Linked DNA regions of Homo sapiens: regions 1, 2, 3 and 4 are each linked to region 5. Evidence: promoter capture Hi-C in human tissues and cell types (Jung and others, 2019). All regions are on one chromosome and are shown on one strand. The core of a region is centred on a gene start or on the middle of the fragment in contact, and the rest is flanking DNA. Distances in the headings are between cores, read along the strand shown. Region 1 has its middle 24 kb from the start of OLIG2. Region 2 overlaps ITSN1 (intersectin 1). Region 3 has its middle 37 kb from the start of LINC01548. Region 4 has its middle 30 kb from the start of OLIG1. Region 5 holds the start of DNAJC28 (DnaJ heat shock protein family (Hsp40) member C28).

Evidence for each region. Contacts are between HindIII fragments. The study calls those that stand out against the background at their distance.
Region 1: a contact is called between a fragment that was not itself captured here and the fragment with the promoter of DNAJC28 in region 5, in 3 of the 25 tissues and cell types used here (dorsolateral prefrontal cortex, mesenchymal stem cells and mesendoderm cells).
Region 2: a fragment that was not itself captured here is called in contact with the fragment with the promoter of DNAJC28 in region 5 in 1 of the 25 tissues and cell types used here (adrenal gland).
Region 3: a contact is called between a fragment that was not itself captured here and the fragment with the promoter of DNAJC28 in region 5, in 3 of the 25 tissues and cell types used here (hippocampus, mesendoderm cells and spleen).
Region 4: a contact is called between a fragment that was not itself captured here and the fragment with the promoter of DNAJC28 in region 5, in 1 of the 25 tissues and cell types used here (H1 embryonic stem cells).

The regions. Positions count from the first base shown.
Region 1 is chr21:32,999,565-33,004,325 of GRCh38, reverse strand. No RefSeq gene overlaps it. Among named protein-coding and RNA genes, the nearest start is that of OLIG2, 24 kb to the left of the region's middle. The HindIII fragment of the contact is 7,473 bases long and covers 1-4,761 here.
Region 2 is chr21:33,861,131-33,865,391 of GRCh38, reverse strand. It overlaps ITSN1 (intersectin 1), which reads right to left. Exons shown (of 40, transcript NM_003024.3): 32 at 58-241. Among named protein-coding and RNA genes, the nearest start is that of ATP5PO, 53 kb to the left of the region's middle. The HindIII fragment of the contact is 6,469 bases long and covers 1-4,261 here.
Region 3 is chr21:33,131,268-33,135,991 of GRCh38, reverse strand. No RefSeq gene overlaps it. Among named protein-coding and RNA genes, the nearest start is that of LINC01548, 37 kb to the left of the region's middle. The HindIII fragment of the contact is 9,056 bases long and covers 1-4,724 here.
Region 4 is chr21:33,097,985-33,102,478 of GRCh38, reverse strand. No RefSeq gene overlaps it. Among named protein-coding and RNA genes, the nearest start is that of OLIG1, 30 kb to the right of the region's middle. The HindIII fragment of the contact is 8,649 bases long and covers 1-4,494 here.
Region 5 is chr21:33,489,882-33,494,519 of GRCh38, reverse strand. DNAJC28 (DnaJ heat shock protein family (Hsp40) member C28) reads left to right here and starts at 2,804. Exons shown (of 2, transcript NM_001040192.3): 1 at 2,804-2,918. The HindIII fragment of the contact is 10,582 bases long and covers 1-4,638 here.

The DNA of each region.
Region 1 (4,761 bases), core at 536-3,035, 490 kb after region 5:
AGACTTATTAACTATCATGAGAACAGCAAAGGAAAGACCCATCTTCATGATTTAATTACCTCCACCTGGTCACTCCCACAACATATAGGAATTGTGGGGCTAAAATTCAAGAGGAGATTTGGGTGGGGACACAGCCAAACTATATCATTCCCCCATAAGGAGGCCTTGGCAGAGGTGCCTGAAGAAGACCATGGACACAGAGACCCGGGAATGAAGGTGCAGGGCTGGGAACACAGGTGCATGTAAGAGCATGGCCGGCCAGGGGCCTGATACCTTGCCCGCAGCTCCCTCCTGGGAGTGCCACTGCCCTGGCTGTGCCAGGTCTGGTGTGGAGTGGGAGTCTCCCCATAAGGCCTGCCAGGTACAGCCTTGTAGTTTCCCACAGCCAGGCCTGAAAAATCACAACTAAAAGTCAGACTCCTCAGTGGGAGGTTCTATTACTTGCCATGGAAAACATCATAACATAACAATTTGGAATCTCTTAGTAACGAGGAAAAAAAACCCAACTCAGATGGGTTTAAAAAAATAAAGGATACGTGATTTTAAAATGGACAGAGGACTTGAATACACATTTCTCCAAAGATGATATATGAATGGCCAACAAGTATCTGAAAAGATGCCCCACGTGACTAACCATGAGAGACATGTAAATCAAACCTACAATGAGATATCACCCCATACCCAGCAGGATGGCCACTATAATAAAAACCCCAGAAAATACCCAGTGTTGGCAGGGATGTGGATGTGTTCATCCGTCTCTTCACTAGCTGTTAAATGCTACTAGTGTTAGGCCCTGAGCATAGAAAAATGGTTAAGACAATAGATGTAGACAGTAGTCTACTTAGGGACATTGTCAGAAGAACAAATACAGTAACTGCTGTAATAGATATACATACACTATGTGCTGTAATTTAAAAGTACTATAATAGAAATTTTGTGTATTAATGTATTTATTTATTAAGGGTCTCACTCTGTCACCCCGGCTGGAGTGCAGTGGCACAATCATAGCTCACTGCAGCCTCCAATTCCTGGGCTCAAGCAATCCTCCTGCCTCAACCTCCCAAAGCGCTGGGATTACAGGTGTAAGCCACTGTGCCCAGCTGCTCCTGACAGTTTTATGAGAAGATCAAGCACTTTTATTCCTGCTAAGTTCCCAGTAAACCTCTCCTAACCTTCCATTGGCTGGATTCATGTTATTTTTCATTGAGCCAGTCACTGTGGCCAGTTGGATGGGATGTGCTGATTGGATTCACCAATCAGGGCCCATTCAGGAGTAGAAGGGAGAGCTCACTTTTTCAGAGGCACATGGGAAGGTAGTATAGTTAAAAGAAAATGAGATGGAGGCAACTAGAAGGGGGAATGGATGTTAGGCAGGCTACAAGATACAGTTGCCAATTACATTGTGACATATGGGTTGCTAACCTGGCATAAAGAGTTCAAATTATTGGCTGGGCACGGTGGCTCATGCCTGTAATCCAGGCACTTTGGGAGGCCGAGGGAGACAGATCACGAGGTCAGGAGTTCGAGACCAGCCTTACCAACATAGTGAAACCCCCATCTCTACTAAAAATACAAAAATTAGCCAGGCATAGTTGCGCACATCTGTAGTCCCAGCTACGCAGGAGGCTGAGGCAGGAGAATCACTTGAACCCAGGAGGCGGAGGTTGCAGTGAGCTGAGATTGTGCCACTGCACTCCAGCCTGGGCAACAGAGTGAGACTCTTTCTCAAAAAAAATAAATAAATAAAGAGATTTCAAATTATTTTAATGGGAGAGGTAGCTGCAGCTTTCCCTGTGTTTAGCCAGACTAAGAGCCTCCCCACTAAACCAATGACAGCTGAGGATATAAGATGTGTATCTCAAGGTGTCAGCCACTCCTTGGCCATAAGTCCAGACCAGTGACTAGAGGTCTGGCAGTAGGTATTAAATTTTTCCGGCCTGTGTGATGCTTCTCTTCTTCCCTGTCCTTTGTGGAGTCATAGATATGAGCTACCAGAAGACAAGTGGAGGAAAATGGCTGGAAAAACAGACAGAACCTGATATTAGCATTCTTGGTACTGAAAGACCTGGGCTCATCTTCTGTTTCTGTAATTTTCTGGCTGTGTGAGCTTTGGTAAATTTCAGAACTTTTGTGATTCAGCTTCATCTATAAAACTGGAGTAATGATGTGATGATCAAATTTGCAGGGTTGAGATAAAGATGGAATGACATCAAGGTGCTGCCCTATAGAAGTACTCAGTAAATGGGAGTTATTTTTTGGGATTAATTTATTGAGGGCTTTGTATGTACCAAGTGCTATGCTAAGTGCTAGAAATATACTATGCCATTTCATTTTCCCAACAAGTCTATGAGGTAGGCATTTTATCTACATTTTACAGTTATGAAAACTGAAGCTCAGAAAGGTTATATAACTTTTCTTTTTCTCACCCAGACAGCAAGTGGATTCGGACAAGTCTGTCTGATGCCTCGGATGGTATTTTATTTGCTACATTATACTGTCTCCTGCACTGCTGATGAAAAACGGTTGCTCAGCTGAAACCTATTAGCCCCCAAGGTGATCTGTGGATGAGTTTCAGGGAATCTCTCAGCCCCTTTATATGATATGCAGACTTCTGTGTATATATTCACTTTTCTGGAGAGAGAGTTTATAGCATTCAATAGAAAGCTGTCCCTGTTCTCCAAAAAATGGTAATTTTTAATAAGGAGAAATCACATAATATATGTAGCAGAGTTTTATTCCATTTCCATCTATCCAGCTATGCATGGGTTGGACAATGGGTAAAAACATGTAGTTAGAGAGAAGGTATAAATTCTAATGTTCAATAGCAGAGTAGGGTGACAATAGTCATATATTTCAAAGTAGCTAGAAGAGAGATCTTGGATCTATCCATCCAATAAATATTTACCCAGGGCATTCTTTTCATCAGGCACTGAACTAAATGCCAGGATTACCTTTGAAAGACAGGATTTCAAGTATGTAAACATTTGTTTTACAATAAAGAAAACTTGCATCTACTGGTGAGATATGTTTTTCTCTGATAATGACTATTATGTAAATTGTTCTATATTCCCTTTATACTTTGGTGGCCAGAAAGCTTAGACTAAAAATTCTTATATTCTTATTTTAGCTCACATTGATTCTTACTCTTTAACTCCATTTAAAAATCTACATTTATTTTTTACTATATGTATTGGCATTGTTGGCTGCCTCAAATTGTCTATGAAATGAGCTGAGAAACAAAACCAATTTATTTAAAAAAAAAAAAAAAAACCAAACAAGCACAATTAAATTTTTGTTGTCTCACTTTTTATTCCATGACTCATGGGAAGCTTTAGGAATATTCAACAATAATACTCTTCATGTATCCAGTGGAACTTATAATTATGTGAGTTTTACACTGGTTATGTATTATTAATCTCATATCAAGTGGAGGAAATAAAGCTCAGATTTTGCCCAAGGACTGATAGGAAATGGCCTTATGCTCTAACTTCAGTGTGGCACTCCTCATGCCATTCTTCCAAGAACGCACATCAAACTTCTATTTCCGGGCATTTTTGTTTGTACTTTTAAACTAAAAATAAAATACAGGCAACATTTTAGACAGTGTAGCCGACCTCTTGATTGCCTACCCAAATCCCATTCCTTTTTCTTCCTTTCTAACAAAGACCTTATTTTTTTTTGTGGTGCCATTGTGGCCATATTAAAATGTCCAACTTCCCAGACTCCCTTGCAGTTAAGGGTGGCCATGTGACCCATTCTAGCCAATGTAATGTTGGCAGAAATCCAAAGAGTAGCATCTATTCCCAGACAAAAACACAAAAGATTGAGAGGAAAAGCCTTGTGGTTCTTTTCTCTCTTCCTGCCTGCAATACGGGCATCATACACAGAGCAGCAGCAGCCATTTTTCGACTTTAGAGAAGGAAAGCCTCAAGTTAAGATTAGTAGAGCAGGAAGAGCAAGCCAGTCTGAGTCCCAGTGGACATGGCTGGTCAAGCAACCACTCTAGCCCTACACTGCTTACCTCGTGCTTTCTTGCTATGTGAGGACAATAACCCTCTTGGAGGTCTCGACCACACTGGTAAGGTTTTCTGGGTCAAACATAATCCTTACTCTTAAGGCAGCTTAAATAAAGTGACAAAACTATTGATGAGCATTTTTTACTCTCAAATGACCAGAAATCACTTACCTAGGAATTGACGAGAGAATACTTATTTCGTTTTCATTGTCTAGATGGCCACTTTATTAACAACATGGCCTAATCCTTCAATAAGAGAAATCACTGGTTGATTCTATCCCAAATTACTCCATGTAAGGAAAGAGATTAAGGTTGAAGTGACTCCTGTACAGTACTTTGAGAGTATATTGTGCAGGATTCCCTTTGAGACTCTTCAATTCAGTATTTACTTATCTGTCCTTTCAAGATTGATTAGCAATTATTTATGGCAAAGATAAAGCAGCCAAACTGTGAGAGGAGCATTTCTTGGAATAGTGATTTATTATTTATTAACATCAGAAATATTCAGTTACAAAATTTGAGCAAGAGAGAAAAATGTAAGAGGAAAACAGCAAATTATCTGAAATCCTACCATCAGCATAACCAGAGTTAATATTTGCTATAGAACAGTCCAGGTCTTTCTTTGTGCATATGGCCCAATAGATGGATAGAAAAGGGGAGTGTGTGTGTGGTGTGTGGTGTGTGGTGTGCAGTGTGTGTGTGTGTGTGTGTGTGTGTGTGTGTGTCAGAGAGAGAGAGAATTGGCT
Region 2 (4,261 bases), core at 579-3,078, 370 kb before region 5:
CAGCTGCCCAAAGATCGCCACTCTGGGGCCCAGTCTCTGCACAGCCTGGCTCCTTACTTTGACGAACTCCTTGAAGTCTGGGGCCTCATCCGTCTTCTGCTGGATCAGGGCAGCCCCGTTGAGCTGGCGGCTGCAGAAGCGGATGTAGGGCTGCATGTGCGGCAGCTGTGCGCTCAGGATGTCTCCAATCATCTTCACAGGCATCTTCTCCCCGGACATCTTCTTGCGGACTCTCAGCGCTCTGCACGGAAACACGGGAGGTGAGCCCCCTGCTTTCACGCTATCTGACAGCACCACAGCACACTTAGGTTGCACAGAAACAGAATGTGTGTGAGGGGCACAGCCTTAAGGGCCACTAAAGGATCTATTTGGGAGACAAGGAATGGAGAAAGAAATGAGTCTAGGGCTACAGAGAGGTAGCACCAGAGCATTTTTCTTTGGCAGAGTGGCTGTTTGTTACAATTTGTTTTTCTTGTGCAGAAATATGGAGTTTTTTTCTTGAACAACTCAAATGGGTCCCCTGTGTCGATGCCTCACTACACAGATTATCGGTGGTGAAAGCCCCAGGTTGATGTGGCCTGAGCACTGATCCTATTTCCAGGAGACACTTCTGCCCAAGGGAAGTTGCTATTGCCAGAGGATGGGGAAGGATGATTTTTGGCTAAAAAGAACATAATTAAGATGGCAAAACAAATGCCTTGGCAAAATAATCCCATGAGATTCAGCAAAAGCCAGGTATAAATGACTGTTTGAAGTATCTCTGTGATTCGCTGCTTCATTGCTAGAGCTGAGTTAACTAAATTAAGAGGAGTTCGGAAAAGAGGTCTATTACTATGATAATGGGCCAATGAACCCAAAAAATGTATATCCTGGAATTCAGGAGAGGTGTTGATGGGACTGGGAAGTGTGTGTTCTGGGGTCTGCCTGCAGTGTGAGTGCTCAGAGCTATGGTAACTAGGACTGTGCTTCCCCTCTCCCAACTTCAACATGTGAACCCTTAACACCAGCATCTGGAAGAAGGGCATGGCACTGAGCTTATACACGGTAAGGACAGCAAGGTACTACATGGCAGGACCACAACATGAAGCCATGGGTGTGTTCAGCTATCCTAGTTAGTGATCATGGGTGGATGGATGGGTAGATGGAACAAAATGGTATAACCTATGACTTTAACACAAGGCTGGGAGGATGTCCCTATTGAATGCCTTTGGCTGCTTTCATGGTCATGTTGGAGAAGCCTTTGAGGTACGGGGCGGGCTATTGAATTCCAAGGAAGCTCTGCAATATTTATATTAGGCTTTAAAAACTTCAGATCACTTTCTTTTCTTTCTCCCACATTTTTGGCTAAAATAAAGTCCCTTGGACCGGGCAAGCCAAGGAGAAAAACTTAGGGACCATAAATGATGTGGTGTGAGCAGTCAGCGATTCCACCTGAAGTGGATGCCCTCATGGGGAGATCAGCACTGGCTGCCTCTGGGGTGTGGGGAGCAGTGGCAGCTTGGTGTCCTCAGGATGGCCCAAAGGCCACTGCCCCATTGAGGGGTTGGTGTGAAATACCACAACGAGCAAAAATGTGCTCAAGGGTGATGACACCAATAATTTGGGGGGATGAGAGCCCTGGATAGCCACGTTATAAACTTGCAATGAATGGAAACAGGAAGAAATTCCATCATTCCATCATTTTCCTATGAGGAGTAGTTTTTTTAACAAGTGAATAAAAAGTACTTTCACCCTTTCCTTCTCCTATTTTGTTTTGTTTTGTTTGAGACAGAGTCTCACTCTGTAGCCCAGGCTGGAGTGCAGTGGTGCAATCCCAGCTCTACAACCTCCACCTCAGTCTCCCGAGTGGCTGGGACTACAGGCACCCGCCACCATGCCCAGCTAATTTTTATTTTTTTAGTAGAGATGGGGTTTCGCCATGTTGGCCAGGCTGGTCTCGAACTGCTGACCTCAAGTGATCCACCCACCTTGGCCTCCCAAAGTGCTGGGATTATAGGCATGAGCCACCGTGCCCGGCCCCGGCCGCTGGCCTGTTTTTTATTAAAGGATGAAGGAGACAAGAAGAAAAGAAAAGAAGAAAGAGCATCTGCAGACAGTGATTGTCTTGAGGAATTAGTTCCTGGGTTCTGCAGACCCACACTTGTAGAACAGAGTTACCCAACCAGCAGACAGGCCTAAAATTAAAGCCTGATTTACTATGGACTAGGCACCTATTAGATTCAGTCATGGGTCTTCGTCCAGGATGGTCTACTGTATAGGCAAAGACTTATGAAGACCGCAAGGTGTTACCAGGCCCAGGGATCATGTGACTCGGCTGCTGCAGCCACAGCCCTAAGAGTACTCTGCTTGCGGTGAGCTGATCGGCAGTCTCCTAGAAAGGTTTACAGATGAGAGGACTTGAACTGCAAAAGGCAATTAACTGGCTAACAAATGTTTCAAAGAGCGCTCAATGATTGCTGAACACATGAGTGTCTGTAACCCTCTGAAGTCTGCAGACCAAGTGGACAGTCATGGAACTAGCATTTATTAATGCTTCCTATGTGTCAAACAGAGTTTTACATATATTATTATCCCCATTTCCTATTGGGGAAACTCAGGCATGCAGAAATTCAGTGACTTGACCCAAGTCTCAGAGCTAATAGGTGACAGAGGTAACCCTGGAACCCAGGTCTGACTCCAGAGCCCATGGTTGGGACCACAGCCTCAGAGGCCCCAACCCACCTCCCGCCACGACTGCCTCCAAGCTGCTCTGGGCACCTGCCCATCTTCCCAGACGCGGCTGCCCTGCTCCCGCCATCTCGCCCTCAAGCCTTTCCCTGCTGGTCCCAGCCTCAGCCTCTGCACTTCCCGCCCTGCTGGACTTCCCACCATCTGCTCCATGCCCTCTCTCCTTCCCTCTTCTCCTTCTCCCAACCCCACATCCTTTTCTTCTTCTTTCTCACCATCTGTCATTACCCCAAACTGATTTTTATTTTTTATTTTTCCTTCATTTTCTGCTTAAACAAGATAAAATGGAATCCATTCTTCTTAAGTTAAAAAGAAGATGAGTCAGATATTTAAGAAAAACACTGTTTTGGGACAAGCTCTTATTTTTTTTTTCTTTTCTTTTTCCATCGAGGGGACAGGAAAGCCTCTTGATAAAAAACAGTTCCCCAAACCTGGGTTGGTCACCCCACCTCACTTCTGCTTCCCTTCTGCTATCATTTTTTTTTTTTTTTTTTTTTTTTGTGACACAGTCTCACTCTGTTGCCCAGGCTGAAGTGCAGTGGCACGATCTTGGTTTACTGCAGCCTCTGCCCCCACCGGGTTCAAGCAATTCTTCTGCCTCAGACTCCTGAGTAGTTTGTATTACAGGCATGCGCCACCACGCACAGCTCTTTTTTTTTTTTTTTTTTTTTTTAGTAGAGATGACGTTTCTTTTTTATTTATTTATTTATTTATTTTTTGAGACGGAGTCTCACTCTGTCGCCCAGGCTGGAGTGCAGTGGTGCGATCTCAGCTCACTGCAAACTCCACCTCCCAGGTTCACACCATTCTCCTGCCTCAGCCTCCCGAGTAGCTGGGACTACAGGCGCCCGCCACCACGCCTGGCTATTTTTTTGTATTTTTAGTAGATGTGGGGTTTCACCGTGTTATCCAGGATGGTCTCAATCTCCTGACCTCATGATCCACCCGCCTCGGCCTCCCAAAGTGCTGGGATAACAGGCATGAGCCACCGCACCCGGCCCTTCTGCCATCATTTCTGACAGCTGTCCTGAGGGTCCTGCTCCAGGCTCTGGATATAAAAAGGTTCTAGACCTGTCTGGCCCTACCTTGTCTATGAAAGGCACATTTCTCAGGTCTCAGCTTCCTCGCAAGAGAGCCAGCCATTTGCTCTAACCCTCAATGAGGCATCATTAGTAGGAAGTCCATGTGTTCCAGTTAGCCCTTTTTATTTTCATGTTATTTATTTATTGTTGACTTGTTTGATAACTGCCCTACCCCCTGCCCCACCCCCCAAATACAAGGACTGTAGGATCAGGAGTAGCAGACATATGGCCGCTCACTGGTGGCACTCCAGGGATTGCTGCCTTAACTTCTTATCCTCAAATGCCTCCCTCTCTCGGCTGCTAGGAGCCCTCGATCTCCCCTCATCACAGTTATTCCTTGGCATGAAGAAATTATGTCTATGCAGCCACCCAAATACAGCACAATGTTTTTTGTCCAGTTTATGATGTGGGTGTTCACTCTACAATTCTTTCAAATTTTCTGTATGTTTGAG
Region 3 (4,724 bases), core at 375-2,874, 360 kb after region 5:
TCTTCCCAGATATATTCTTTTGAAAGAGGAGAGTTTGTATTTATGTATTCTGTGTGGTGCCTCACACACAGAGATAATAAATGGTGGTGAATCGACCCTCTGCCTTGCTGCCAGGATGGTTTCTGGGCATAGAGAATTGAGGGTGAAGTAGAATGTTTTATTCCAGAAATTCCAAAGCAATTCAGTGGGCTAAGGTGCTGAATCAGGACTTCTTACAATGAGCCAAATGCCCACCTTGAACTTGGGTGCCAGGAATTCACGGTTTTGTAAAACCAGGGTGATAAGCCATGTCTGGATGTCTCCAGATTTGTGAAATTTTTATATACTGCCTAAATATTTTAAAAATTTATTTTTACACATTTGCATTACATGTAAAAAAATTTATCATTTTCTGTGTGGTTGAATGGTAGAAGAAAACTTCACATAACAAATAATAAGTTTGGAGAATATTCTATAATTTAAGTGTTATGAGCAAGTTTCCTAAGGAAAAACAAACAAAATGAAACTGTCTAAATATTTTAACAACCATTCGTTATATGTAAATATTATAAATAATATACACATATTGAAATAAGAGAAATGTAAACAATAAAATAATTGATGAGATAAAAGCTCCTAAAATCAGCAAAATAAATAATGCTTTTTTTTTTTTTAAGACAGGGTCTCGCTGTGTCGCCCAGGCTGGAGTGCAGTGGCACTATCTCAGCTCACTGCAACCCCCACCTCCCGAGTTCAAGCAAATCTCCTGCCTCAGTCTCCCAAGTAGCTGGGACTACACCTGTAGTCCCACCACCACACCTGGCTAATTTTTTGTATTGTTAGTAGAGACGGGGTTTCACTGTGTTAGCCAGGATGGTCTCAATCTCCTGACCTCGTGATCCTCTCGCCTCGGCCTCCCAAAATGCTGGGATTACAGGCGTGAGCCACCGTGCTTGGACATAATACTCCGTTTTAATAAAACTTCCCAGGAGACAAATATGATTTTTGTGATTGCTTGAATAGCAATGGAGAAGATTACAATGAAATTAGACCCCTGTCCCCCAAAACCAATGCAATGATGGATTGGCCCCATCTCAAAGGAAAAGTCCACCTAGAAGACCCAGAGCAGGCTGGGGACCTGTTCTCAGTGACCCTGGGGGCCGGGTGTTGGTGGGCAGCTGTGCCACTGAGGAGTGAGAAACGGTGGGCTTGGCCTTTAGCTGACCACTGGGGTGACCACTGTGGTAACTGCACGGGGCTGCCAGAAAAATGACGTTTTGAGTGGTGTCTCATCTAGACTGCAGGTGCTCACTTACACCTTGCTGGCTGTGTGGTTTGGGGCAAGTTACTAATCCTTTCTGTGTCCCCTCTGTCTCTGTATCTGTCAAATAAATATAATGATTGTACCTAGGTAGTATGTTATGAAGATCAAGTGAGCTTATATTTGTAAACTTCTTGCAGCAGTACCTGGCATATCTCAGGCAGCAGTCGCTGTGATAACAGTGACGGCTAGCCCTTCCAGCAGCATAGTCTGCAGATACCAGTTGTGCTACATACACCTAACAGGGAAACAAGAAGATCTGGCATTGAGTCCTGGCTCACCACTTGATGTTCAGCAAAAGCCTTTAGCTGCCTTGAGCCTCATCCTCCTGCCAGGAGAATGGAGCTAATGACACCTCCCTTACAAAGTTATTGTTAAGATTCAACCAGACCTGCATCCTGTGAGCTGTGGCGCACTCTCTGTGGGTGGCATTGGAGCAGGTGGGCAAGAGGGAAGCATGGCTTTGACTTGGGCTTTGCCTTTGACTGGGGAGCTGACTGCAGCCTCCATCTGGGTATGGCCTCTGGACCACATGCTGTTCTCTCGCCTTTCCCACCCCTCTCCCCCGCGACAATATGCTAACTGGTGTCCTTCTCTACAGGATCCCGCTTCCTGCCAGGTGACAGCAAGATAATCCAGCCACACACTCCTTGCTAATGGGGATTAGGGTGCTAATGGATTCTCCCTCTAGGTTAACATATGCACTTTTACAGAGGGGCCTTCTGGAGATGATGCTGATGCCAGAGAAATGACTCTAATGGGCCAAGTTTGGACGCAGTGGGAGGGACCCTTGCAATGGGCCGCCACGTGCTGTCAGTCAACCCCATTCGCCTCTACATAAAAAGCCTGCCAAACTCTTCCGATGAAGCCACCCCTTCACTCCATTCTCTGTCATATCAATGAAGAAAGTTTTCCTTGGAGGAGAAACAATATATCTCTTAGTCCATTAATCAGTTAATCTGTTATTTACTGACCACTTTGTAAAACCATAATGATAATCATCATTTATTAAGCACCTACTACACACCAAACTTTGTAGTGTTTTATGTATTTCACTTCATCTGGTTTTCACAACCATCACCTCCCCACCTTACAGATGAGCAGACAAGCTTTTTGATTTTTTAAAAATTATGACAAAATACATGTAACATAACATTTACCATCTTTCTTTATTTTTTATTTTTTTAATTTGAGACCAAGTCTCACTCTGTCACCCAGGCTGGAGTGGAGTGGCACAATCTCAGCTCACTGCAACCTCTGACTCCCTAGTTCAAGTGATTCTCCTGCCTCAGGGTCCCGAGTAGCTGGGATTACAGGTGCACACCACCATGCCCAGCTAATTTTTGTATTTTTAGTAGGGACGGGGTTTCACCATGTTGACCAGGATGGTCTCGATCTCCTGACCTTGTGATCCGCCAGCCTTGGCCTCCCAAAGTGCTGGGATTACAGGCGTAAGCCACCACGCCCAGCCAAAATTTACCATCTTAACCATTTTTTAAGTGTATAGTTCAGTGGCATTAAGAACATTCACAGCCAGGCGCAGTGGCTCATGCCTGTAATCCCAGCACTTTGGGAGGCTGAGGCGGGTGGATCACCTGAGGTCAGGATCTCGAGACCAGCCTGACCCACAGGGCGAAACCCCATCTCTACTGAAACAAAAATTAGCTGGGCGTGGTGGCACTTGCCTGTAATCCCAACTACTCGGGATGCTGAGGCAGGAGAATTGCTTGAACCAGGGAGGTGGAGGTTGCAGTGAGCCGAGATTGTGCCTCTGCACTCCAGCCTGGGCGACAGAGCGAGATTTGGTTTCAAAAAAAAACAAACAAATAAACAAAACGTTCACATTGCTGTGCAACCATCACCACCATCCAGCCATACAAAACTCCTCTGGTCTTGTAAAACTGAAACTGTGTACCCATTAAACAGTAACTCCCCACTGCCTGCTCCCTTCAAACCCTGGCAATCACCATTCTACTTTCTGTCTAGGAATTCGACTCATCTAGATACCTGATGTAAGTGGAATCATATAGTATTTGTCCTTTCGTGTCTGGCTTATTTCACTAAGCATAATGCCCACAAGGTTCATCCATGTTGTTGTATGTGTTGGAATTTTCTTCCTTTAAACGTATATCTATGCTACCTTTTTTTTTTTTTTTTTTTTTTTTGAGATGGAGTCTTACTCTATTGCCTAGGCTGGAGTGCAGTGGTACTGTCTCAGCTCACTGCAACTTCCACCTCCAAGGTTAAAACGATTCTTGTACCTCAGCCTCCCAAGTAGCTGGGGCTACAGGTGTAAGCCACCCCACCTGGCTAATTTTTGTATTTTTAGTAGAGACAGTGTTTCACCATGTTGACCAGGTGGTCTCAAACTCCTGACCTCAGGTGATCAGCACCTGGCCTACATTTTGTTTTGATGGACACTTGGGTTACTGCCACCTTTTGGCTATTGTGAATAGTGCTGCTCTGAACATGGGTGTGCAAATATCTCTTCAAATCCTTGCTTTCTATTCTTTTGGGTATTTACCCAGAAGTGGAATTGTTGAATTATATGGTATTTCCATTTTCAATTATTTGAGAAACGGCCATACTGCTTTCCCTAGCGGCTGTACCATTTTACATTCTCACCTATGGTGCCCAGCGGTTCCAGTTTCTCCCTATCCTCACCAACACTTGTCATTTTCTGGTTGTTTTGTTTTGTTTCTTATTGTAGCCCTTTTAATGAGTATGGAGGAGACGAGCTTCTGATTGGATGCTAAGGGGCTGTAGTCAAGCTTCTGATTGGATGCTAAGGGGCTGTAAAGTAGTCAAGCTTCTGATTGGATGCTAAGGGGCTGTAAAGTAGTCGTGTCCTCGCGCCCTTGTGAAATAGTTACAGAGCCTGCTACACTATTCCTTTGATACAGAGAACAGTAAGTCACAGCATATAAGCAAGGGTTAGATGGAGCATCCAGAGGACGATGGCAGGGAACAAAAGAGAAGTCCTGAGAAGGATCGTGGGACCAGACCAGGCTTTGTGGAAAGCATGGGGCTGAACTGTGCCCCAAGGGTGCAGAGAAGGTGGGGAGTGTGTTCCAGGAGAGGGGGCCACCGGAACAATGGTGTGCAGATGGAAACTGGTCCAGCTACTAAACTGAGAGGGACAAAAAGAACAATAGCGTTGACAGGGATACGTGGCAAGACAAGCCTATTTCACCTGGACTTTCCTGCTGAACTCCAGACCTTATGAAAGCTCTGATAACAGCTGGGACATCTGGTCGTGCAATCCGTGGTGAGGAAGGAGAATCCAGGCATTCTTTTAGCCCAGTAGTGAATTCGAGCGATGCCAGAGGGGAGTCATCTTGGCAGTGTGATACTCCCAGGGAGTAGGAGTAGGAGGATGTGGCGTGGCGGGGGCTGTGAGAGTGCCTGTGCAGGCTGCGAGGGG
Region 4 (4,494 bases), core at 1,685-4,184, 390 kb after region 5:
CCAGCCAAGAACCCTTTTTTTACTGGTGGGAAACCAAGGCACTGAGAGTTTAAATAAATTGCCCAAGACCTCAAGATCGCTATTTGATTTTCAGACCCATATTTGAAACTGCACAGCATGCCTCAAGATAGCAGAGAACTGCGCTGGGGCTCTGTCTTCCGCAGTTCCTAAATTATGTCCTGCCAGAGCCCTGGCGTCCTTTGGGCCACACTCAAGTGTCCTAATGAAAAATGGATGGCTGTGGTCTTTGCCCCCAGCTCACTGAGACTGTTGAGGGCAAGGAAACAGCCCCCACCCCCCTGGCTTTTTTCTTGCTCAGTTTTACTTCCAAGCTCTGTTTTCTTAAATCTTTGTAGTCGTGGCCACATTTATAAACTCAAATGTGACATTAAACGGCATCTAATTTGACACTAAATAGTATGCTTAGTAGTTTTTGCTATCATTAAACTGTGTTTCTTGGGGTTCCACAAACAGCCTGCTGACCTCCCATCCCCCTAGCAGGAGGCTGGAGGATGGGGCCTCCCCGCAGAGCCTGGAGCGTCCCAGGGGCTTCTTCTGGGACCTGTCCTCCTGCTTCCCCGCTCCTTTCAGGCCGCCCTGCCACCTGCCCGGCCTGGGGGATGAATGGGAGCTGTCAGCCTCTGGGCAGAGTTATGGAGGCCCACGGGCCACTGGTTGCCTAAGGAACCGGCCCAGGCGCCTCTCATCCCTCCGGCGTCCTCGCTCCCAAGTCCCTTCAGCTCCCACTTGAGTCTTTGTCTCTCTCTCTGGACACCCCAGGCCACAGGCCGAGGTGAAGATCCTGCCCCTGGTTCTGTTGTTCTCAGTGGGCGCCGCCTTCTCGGCCCCCTCCCTGGCCCAGATGACAGCACTTAGTGACCTTTCACACGAGCACTTCAGGCCTTTGTGTGGGGCAATTGGGCTTCCTGCTCTTTCTGTGAGCGGACACGGATGACAGCATTACAACTGTCAGCCCGCCGGGGCGCAGCGGGAGCCATGGGCCGGCAGGGCAGCCCGGGTCCACGCGGCGGCAGTCACAGCCGCAGCAGGGGCGGATAGAGGAAGCTGGGACCATGGTTGGCCCCCTCACGCCCAGCTCGGGGTGACTCAGGCCTCAGGGGAGCGTGTGCATGGAGGCTCTGGAGAGCAGCACCCCCACCTCCAAGGAGGAGCTGTGCATATTCAGTGCCACCTGCCTGTTGCAGAGGAAGGCCACATGTCCCAAGGTGACTCCTGCCCACCTCTGTGGACACAGACTCGGGGCTGCTCCTGGTTATGACTTAGGTGTGCGACTCCACAAGGAAGTCATCTCATCTCTTTATGTATTTATTTTTCTCTCTATATATATTTTTGAGACAGTGTCTTGCTCTTTTGCCCAGACTGGAGTGCAGTGGCTGCGATCAGGGCCACTGCAGCCTCAACCTCTTGGGCTCAAGCGATCCTCCCACCTCAGCCTCCCAAGTAGCTGGGATTACTGGTGTGTGCCACTATGCCAGGCTAATTTTTGTTGTTGTTGTTATAGAGACAGGGTTTCACCATGTTGCCCAGGCTGGTCTCAAACTCCTAGGCTCAAGCAATCCTCCCTCCTTAGCCTCCTAGAGTGCTGGGATTATAGGCGTCAGCCACTGTGTCAGGCCCATCTCATCTCTTTTGACAGTTAGTCGCATAGTTTTCCTTGTTCCAGGTCTATTAGGAAGGAAATATAAAATACCTTCAGCTCCCTGGAGAAAAGCCCTATGTGGAATCCAGACTACAATAAATACAAACTAGAGTGCTACTACTGACTGCATTACTCCTACTATGATTATTACTATTCTCAGAATTCCTCAGAGCCTTGCATTTCCTGATGCTCTGATGGAATATTAAAACTAAGGGAAAGGAAATGGAATAATACAGCCCATATAATTCCAGCTACGTGAAAAATCGAGTTGTGTGTTCGATTATATATGTGTAGAATAAACAACGGGAAGGAAGCACTACTCACTGTTCACAGTCATTATCCCTGGGAGGTGGGTTATACATGACATAGAGTTTCTTTTTCTATTTCAGTATGTATTTGAATTTGATATGAACCTGCATGTCTTTTATAATCAGAAAGAAACAGTAAATGTTTTAAAAATATGCTCATTTGGGAGAGTAGGGAAGGGGGAATAGTTAATGGGTACAAATATTAGAATAAATAAGACCTAGTATTTGCTATCACATCAGGATGGCTACAGTAAAGAATAATTTAATTGTATGTTTTTAAATAAAAGAGTATAATTGGATTGTTTATAACACAAAGGATAAATGGATACCCTATTTACCCTGATGTAATTATTATGCATTGCAGGCCTGTATCAAAATATCTTATGTAATCCATATATACACCTATTATGTACCCACAAAAATTAGAAATAAAAGTTTTTAAAATGCTCATTTATATTTTGTGTGATTGTAAAAGACCCTAGGAATGTTCTGTATTTCTCTTCTGTTTGCTTGAAAATGAAGCAATTGCTGCCTTCCTAGAAGCCGAGGGTAGGTTGTTTAAGAGAGGAAGTCTGACCTGACGTACACATCCACCTTCAAGAAATAACTTCAAAAAGGGCTAAGAGGCTGGTGCGGTGGCTCACGCCTGTAATCCCAGCACGTTCAGAGGCCGAGGCGGGTGGATCACCTGAGGTCAGGAGTTCGACCAGCCTGGCCAACATGGTGAAACCCCGTCTCTACTAAAAATAGAAAAATTAGCTGGGCGTGGTGGCGAGCACCTGTAATCCCAGCTACTCAGGGAGGCTGAGAGGGGAAAAATCACTTGAACCTAGGAGGCGGAGGTTGCAGTGATCGGTGATCAGTGTGGGCAACAGAGCGAGACTCCGTCTAAAAAAAGGGCCAAGAAAGGAACTGGAGTTTGCTCTCCTCCTACCTAAGGTGATGAAAGGCAGACATGGCATATTTTCTGTGCCTTATCCTGCCTTGGAATAATCTAGCAAGTTGTTTTGCAGGGGGCAATCTTTTTCTTTCTAATTTGGTGCTAAGGGAATGGGCAGAATAAGTCCCCGTGTGAGTGCAGATGCCTCAACTTTGTGCAGTTGCCATTCGTGCCCCGAGAGTGTGGTCTCATTGCATCATCACCAGGAGGACCCCTCTGCCCAAGGGTGCCCCAAGAAGCACATACTGAAGGCACGTGTGGAACTCTGGTTAGCATCACTTCCATTTCTGGTAAATAAGAAACCTGGGCCCTTCTGCTGTTTCAGGCAACCCTTAGTGAACTCACGGGCATTTTTTCCTTTTTTTTTTGAGACAGAGTGTCACCCTGTCCCCCGGCTGGGGTACAGTGGCACGATCTCAGCTCATTGCAATCTCCACCTCCTGGGTTCAAGCGATTCTTGTGTCTCAGCCTCCCAAGTAGTTGGGATTACAGGCACATGCCACCATGCCTGGCTAATTTTTGTGTTTTTAGTAGAGACGGGTTTTCACCATGTTGGACATGCTGGTCTCGAACGCCTGATCTCAGGTGATCCGCCTGCCTCGGCCTCCCAAAGTGCTAGGATTACAGGCGTGAGCCACTGTGCCCGGCCAGAATTTTTTGCATTTTAGTAGAGATGGGGTTTCACCATGTTGTCCAGGCTGGTCTCGAATTCCTGAGGTCAGGCAATCCACACGCCTCGGCCTCCCAAACCGCTAGGATTACAGGAGTGAGCCATCGCACCCAGCTGCGTTTTTTAAATCTTCGTCTCATACATCCTCCTCAGTCTTCTAAGAACGTAGACGGGCAATTTGCAATCAACTGAAATCAAAAAGTCTCGTTTTAAGTGTCATAATGATACGGTGCAAACCTAGAAGGCTATCGTTGGGGAGTATTTTTCTTGGTCACACTGGATGTTGGGCAAGTTACCAAGGCCCCCAGACACTTCAGCTTGTCCGACCTTAGAGCCTGCATTTACATTGATTAGTGAATCGCTCAAAAGAAAGCCACAGGCCATTGCACATTAGCTTTGTCTGGTGACAGAGGAGTTGATCCATGCTCTACCTCTCCCTCACAAACTCACCTCTCCCAGCCTTTTTCCTCGATTGGATTGGTTTGACATCTGATTGCAACGTCTTTACAGATGATCAATCTATTCTTTTCAAGGGGCAAATCAAACTCAGAAAATCTCTGTCAACGCAAGAAGGCAATGACAAAAAAGGAAGAGAAATGCTTTAAACCCAAAAGTAGGACTTTGAGAAAAGGCAAGTTGCAGAAGCAAGTGGTCCCGGGACCCAGGCTCATCAGGACGGGGTGAGATGCCTGTCTTGCAGAGGCCCAAACACCAAAGATTTATGATACCTTTTCCTTCATTTTGGCCTCAGAAAAATCCCCTCTTCTCCCTTTAAAGTCATTTCCCAAATGCTCACCAAAGCCTCTCAAAAAATTTTTTTAAAAAAATAAAATAGAGATTTTATTGTAAAAGCAATTTGTGTTAATTGTAAAAAAAAAAAAAAAAAAAAAGTCAGTTAGTACCAAGGAAAAAATAA
Region 5 (4,638 bases), core at 1,555-4,054:
ATGGCCTTTTTTTTTTTTTTTTTTTTGAGACGGAGTCTTGCACTGTTGCCCAGGCTGGATTGCAGTGGCGCGATCTCGGCTCACTGCAAGCTCTGCTTCTGGGTTCATGCCATTCTCCTGCCTCAGCCTCCAGAGTACCTGGGACTACAGTTGCCCGGTGCCATGCCTGGCTAATTTTTTGTGCTTTTAGTAGAGACAGGGTTTCACTGTGTTAGCCAGGATGGTCTCGATCTCCTGACCTCGTGATCTGCCCACCTCGGCCTCCCAAAGTGCTGGGATTACAGGCGTGAGCCACCGTGCCCAGCCAGAGTATGGCCTTTTATATGGTCAATTTATTGAGAACATTCTGTCATTTCTATCTTGTTTTATGTATTTTTATAATTTTAATGGATTGAAGGGGAAAATTCTTATTTTTTTACTAATGAAATTTTCCCCTGTACCTAGAGAAGGGACTTGCTTTGTGGGCTGAATACACTGATAAACCACTGGTATTGGGAAGGAGGATGGACAGTCCCCGCCCCTTCCCCAGCCTTCGCTGGGCACTCAGTTGAAGATTTCAAAAGGTCCTTGAGCAGCTGGGGAAGCAAGGCTAACTTCAACATTTCTGTTTTCTGCGTGAAGTGTTGACACTTGGAGTGTATTTTAATTTTACTTTTTTTTTAAATAAATAGAGATGGGGTCTCCCTATGTTGCCCAGGTTGGTTCAAATCCCTAGGCTCAAGTGATCCTCCCACCTGGGCCTCCCAGAGGGCTGGGATTACAGGCATGAGCCACTGTGCCTGGCCTTGGAGTGCATTTAGAAGCAAGGCTGGGAGAAGGATGAGATTGAGAGATATAAGGCACCTTACTGGGCCTGGAAGCAGAAGAGGGGGATGGCTACTGGCAACTTTTAGGAAGTTTTGCTTGGTGGCTTTTTTTTTTTTTGAGACAGTGTCTCGCACTGTCACCTGGGCTGGAGTGCAGTGGCGCAATCTCAGCTCACTGCAACCTCCACCTCCAGGGTTCAAACGATTCTCCTGCCTCAGCCTCCCGAGTAGCTGGGATTACAGGCATGCGCCACCACGCCCATCTAATTTTTTGTATTTTTAGAGAGATGGGGGTTTTCCGTGTTGGTCAGGCTGGTCTCAAACTCCCGACCTCAGGTTATCCACCTGCCTCAGCCTCCCAAAGTGCTGAGATTACAGGCGTGAGCACTGCGTCTGGCCTTATTTTTCTTTTTAAAAATTTTTTAGTGGCCAGGTCTTTTTTTTTTTAGACGGAGTCTGGCTCTGTCGCCCAGGCTGGAGTGCAGTGGCACGATCTAGGCTCACTGCAAGCTCCGCCTCCCGGGTTCACGCCATTCTCCTGCCTCAGACTCCCGAGCAGGTGGGACTACAGGCGCCCGCCACCACACCTGGCTAATTTTTTGTATTTTTAGTAGAGACGGGGTTTCACCGTGTTAGCCAGGATGGTCTCGATCTCCTGACCTCGTGATCCGCCCGCCTCGGCCTCCCAAAGTGCTGGGATTACAGGCGTGAGCACCGCGCCCGGCCAGAAATCCTATTTTCTTTCACATGAGTTATTTTGTTGATTGTTTGCTTATAACTAAAGCCCTCAGAATCAGAGTTTATACTGTATCTTTTTCTGTGTTCCTACATAGATGGCAATAAATGATTCTAATGTTTATGATGTAGAAGCTGAGGAGGCTAATACCTATTTCTGGCTCCTTTTAGGAGACACAGTCATAACAAAAAATATTGCTTAATGTGCGAGGCACAGTGCCAAGTGGTTTACATACATTGTGTAATTCTCCCCCTAAAAAAGTCAATGAAGTTGATACAATTATTATTTCATTATATGTAAAATAGGGAAAATAACAGCATTTATCTCAGAGGGCTGTTGTAAAGATTAAATGAATGCCTGTAATCCCAGCACTTTGAAAGGCCGAGGCAGGCAGATCACCTTAGCTCAGGGGTTCGAGACCAGCCTGGCCAACATGGTGAAACCTGGTCTCCACTAAAAATACAAAAAAATTAGCTGGGCATGGTGGTGCGCGCCTGTAATTCCAGCTACTCGGGAGGCTGAGGCAGGAGAATAGCTTAAACCCGGGAGGTGGAGGTTGCAGCGAGCCGAGATCGCGCCACCACACTCCAGCCTGGGCGACAGAGCGAGACTCTGTCTCAAAAAAAAAAAAAAAAAAGTAAATGAGAATATACATAAAGCACTTAGCACAATGGCATACTATTTACTATAGTTTACTATTTATTGCAACTCTCATTTTGCAGGTATCTTGCCTAAGGTGCAAGCAGAAGAAACAGGATTTTCAACCCAGATCTGAAAACTCCCAAGCCTCTGCCTTTTTCTTTTTATCCTTTTTCTTTTTCCTTGTTAAAAAACTTGCTTCCTGTACAGAGAGGGGAAATGCTCAGTCCCCACGTCAGTGGTTGAACTCCAAGCCAGAAGATCCCTATTTTGATTTTGTCCTCTGGCCTGTCGCCAGCCCCTCAACAGTACTTGAATTAATAAAAGGGCAGGTTTTAAGCCTCATGTATCTGCGCAGGTGACTCCTTCTGTGACCCCGAATAAACCTGTTCCGGTCCCGTTCCGGGGAAACAGCCTTGCCTTCCCCTGCCCCCAGAAAGTTACCCTCGCCCTCCGAGCCACAACTCCCCACGCCGCCAACTCGGTCTTTACATCATTTTCGACGCCCCCTAAGTCCCTCCCGAGAGGCGCAGGCGCACATCGCCCCTTCTAGCGAACTACATCTCCCACAATCCCAATCGGCCGGACCACCTCCGCTCGGGGCGGGGACGGAGGTGGAGCTGGTGGTCCCCGGTCGGGACGAAGGCTCCCGAGGTGCCCTGCCTGGGTCCTCCGGGGTAAAGTTCGTTTGGCGGAAGATTGTCCGTTTTCCTGGTAAGGTCACCTGTCCCAATCAGGTACGATTCTGCCTTCCGTACCCCCGAGCCCCTCAGTGTAAAGTGGCAAATGGTCTAGCCCGGCGGAGGCACCAGCTGGAGGCGGTGGGAGGGACACCCGCAGTGAAGGGCGGACCGCGCACGCATGCGCAGAGGCGCGGCAGGGGGGCGGGAGCCGCGGAACCCCTACCCCAGGTCTGCGCAGGTGAGGAGGGGGCGGGGCAGGACCGACCTCCCTTGCCATGATAACCACCTTCGCAGCCGGCTCCCAGACCGTTGGCACCGATTGCCTAGAAAATAGGGGGTCTCAGGAGCTCCGTTTTAGCGTTTATATATCCCAATTCCAATTAAGCCACTTCCAGTATTTTTTGGCCATTGTCAGTGTACAAGTCTTCCTCCTCTTCGAGACCATGTTATTGCAATAGCAGCAAACGTGTTGGGAGGCCTCACAATTCATCATGGTTTTTCTGGCCTCTGGCAGATAGCTCCTTCCTAGCGAGCTGTGGAGCTTAAAGTCTTTTGGACACTTGATTCTATTCAATCCAGTATCAGACCAGGTACGTACCTTGTCCATAAGTCGTCTTATGAGAAGACTTCTTGAGATGATGCAGACTCTCGTGCAGTTTATAATCGGCTGGAGGTATAGACAGTTAAGCAAGCCTCCTTTTTTACTGTGCCCACCCCTAACCATTTTGCTTACACCTTGTTATGGGACTTGGTTAAATTGCTTAACCTTCCGGACCTACGTTTTCTCATTAAATGAGAAGATTGGATTAGATGATCTCTAAGAACTTTCCACTTGTAAAATATACGGTTAGTTAGTGAGGGGTAGAATCCAGATTCTATCTATCTATATTTTTTTGAGACAGAGTCTCACTCTGTTGCCCAGGCTGGAGTGCAGTGGCACGATCTCGGTTCACTGCAACCTCCACCTCCCGGGTTCAAGCGATTCTCTTGCCTCAGCCTCCCGAGTAGCTGGGACTGCAACCTCCAGTTAATTTTTGTATTTTTAGTAGAGACAGGGTTTTGCCATGTTAGCCAGGCTGATCTCGAACTCCTGACCTCAGGTGATCCACCCACCTCGGCCTCCTAAAGTACTGGGATTACAGGCGTGTGCCACCGTGCCTGGCCCCACAATATGTTAACACTAAACTTCATCAGCTTCCACTTTTCTGCCCACATCAGTGAAATATAGCTATAAGAATGCAGCTGGTGGGGCTGGGTGCGGTGGCTCACGCCTGTAATCCCAGCACTTTGGGAGGTCGAGGCGGGCAGATCACAGGGTCAGGAGATCGAGACCATCCTGGCTAACACGGTGAAACGCCGTCTCTACTAAAAATACAAAAATTAGCCAGGAGTGGTGTCGTGCACCTGTAATCCCAGCTACTTGGGAGGCTGAGGCAGGAGAATCGCTTGAACCCGGGAGGCAGAGGTTGCAGTGAGCCGAGATCATGCCATTGCACTCCAGCCTGGGTGAGACTCTGTCTCAAAAAAAAAAAAAAGAAAAGAAAAGAAAAGAAAAAAGAATGTGGCTGGGCACAGTGGCTCACCCCTATAATCCCAGCACTTTGGGAGGCAGAAACTGGCAGATCGTTTGAGCTCAGGAGTTGGAGACCAGGGTGGGCAACATGACGAAACCCCATCCCTACAAAAATACAGAAATTAGCCAGGTGTGGTGGTGCACGCCTGTAGTCCTAGCAACATGAGAGGCAGAGGTGGGAGGATCACTTCAGCCCAGGAG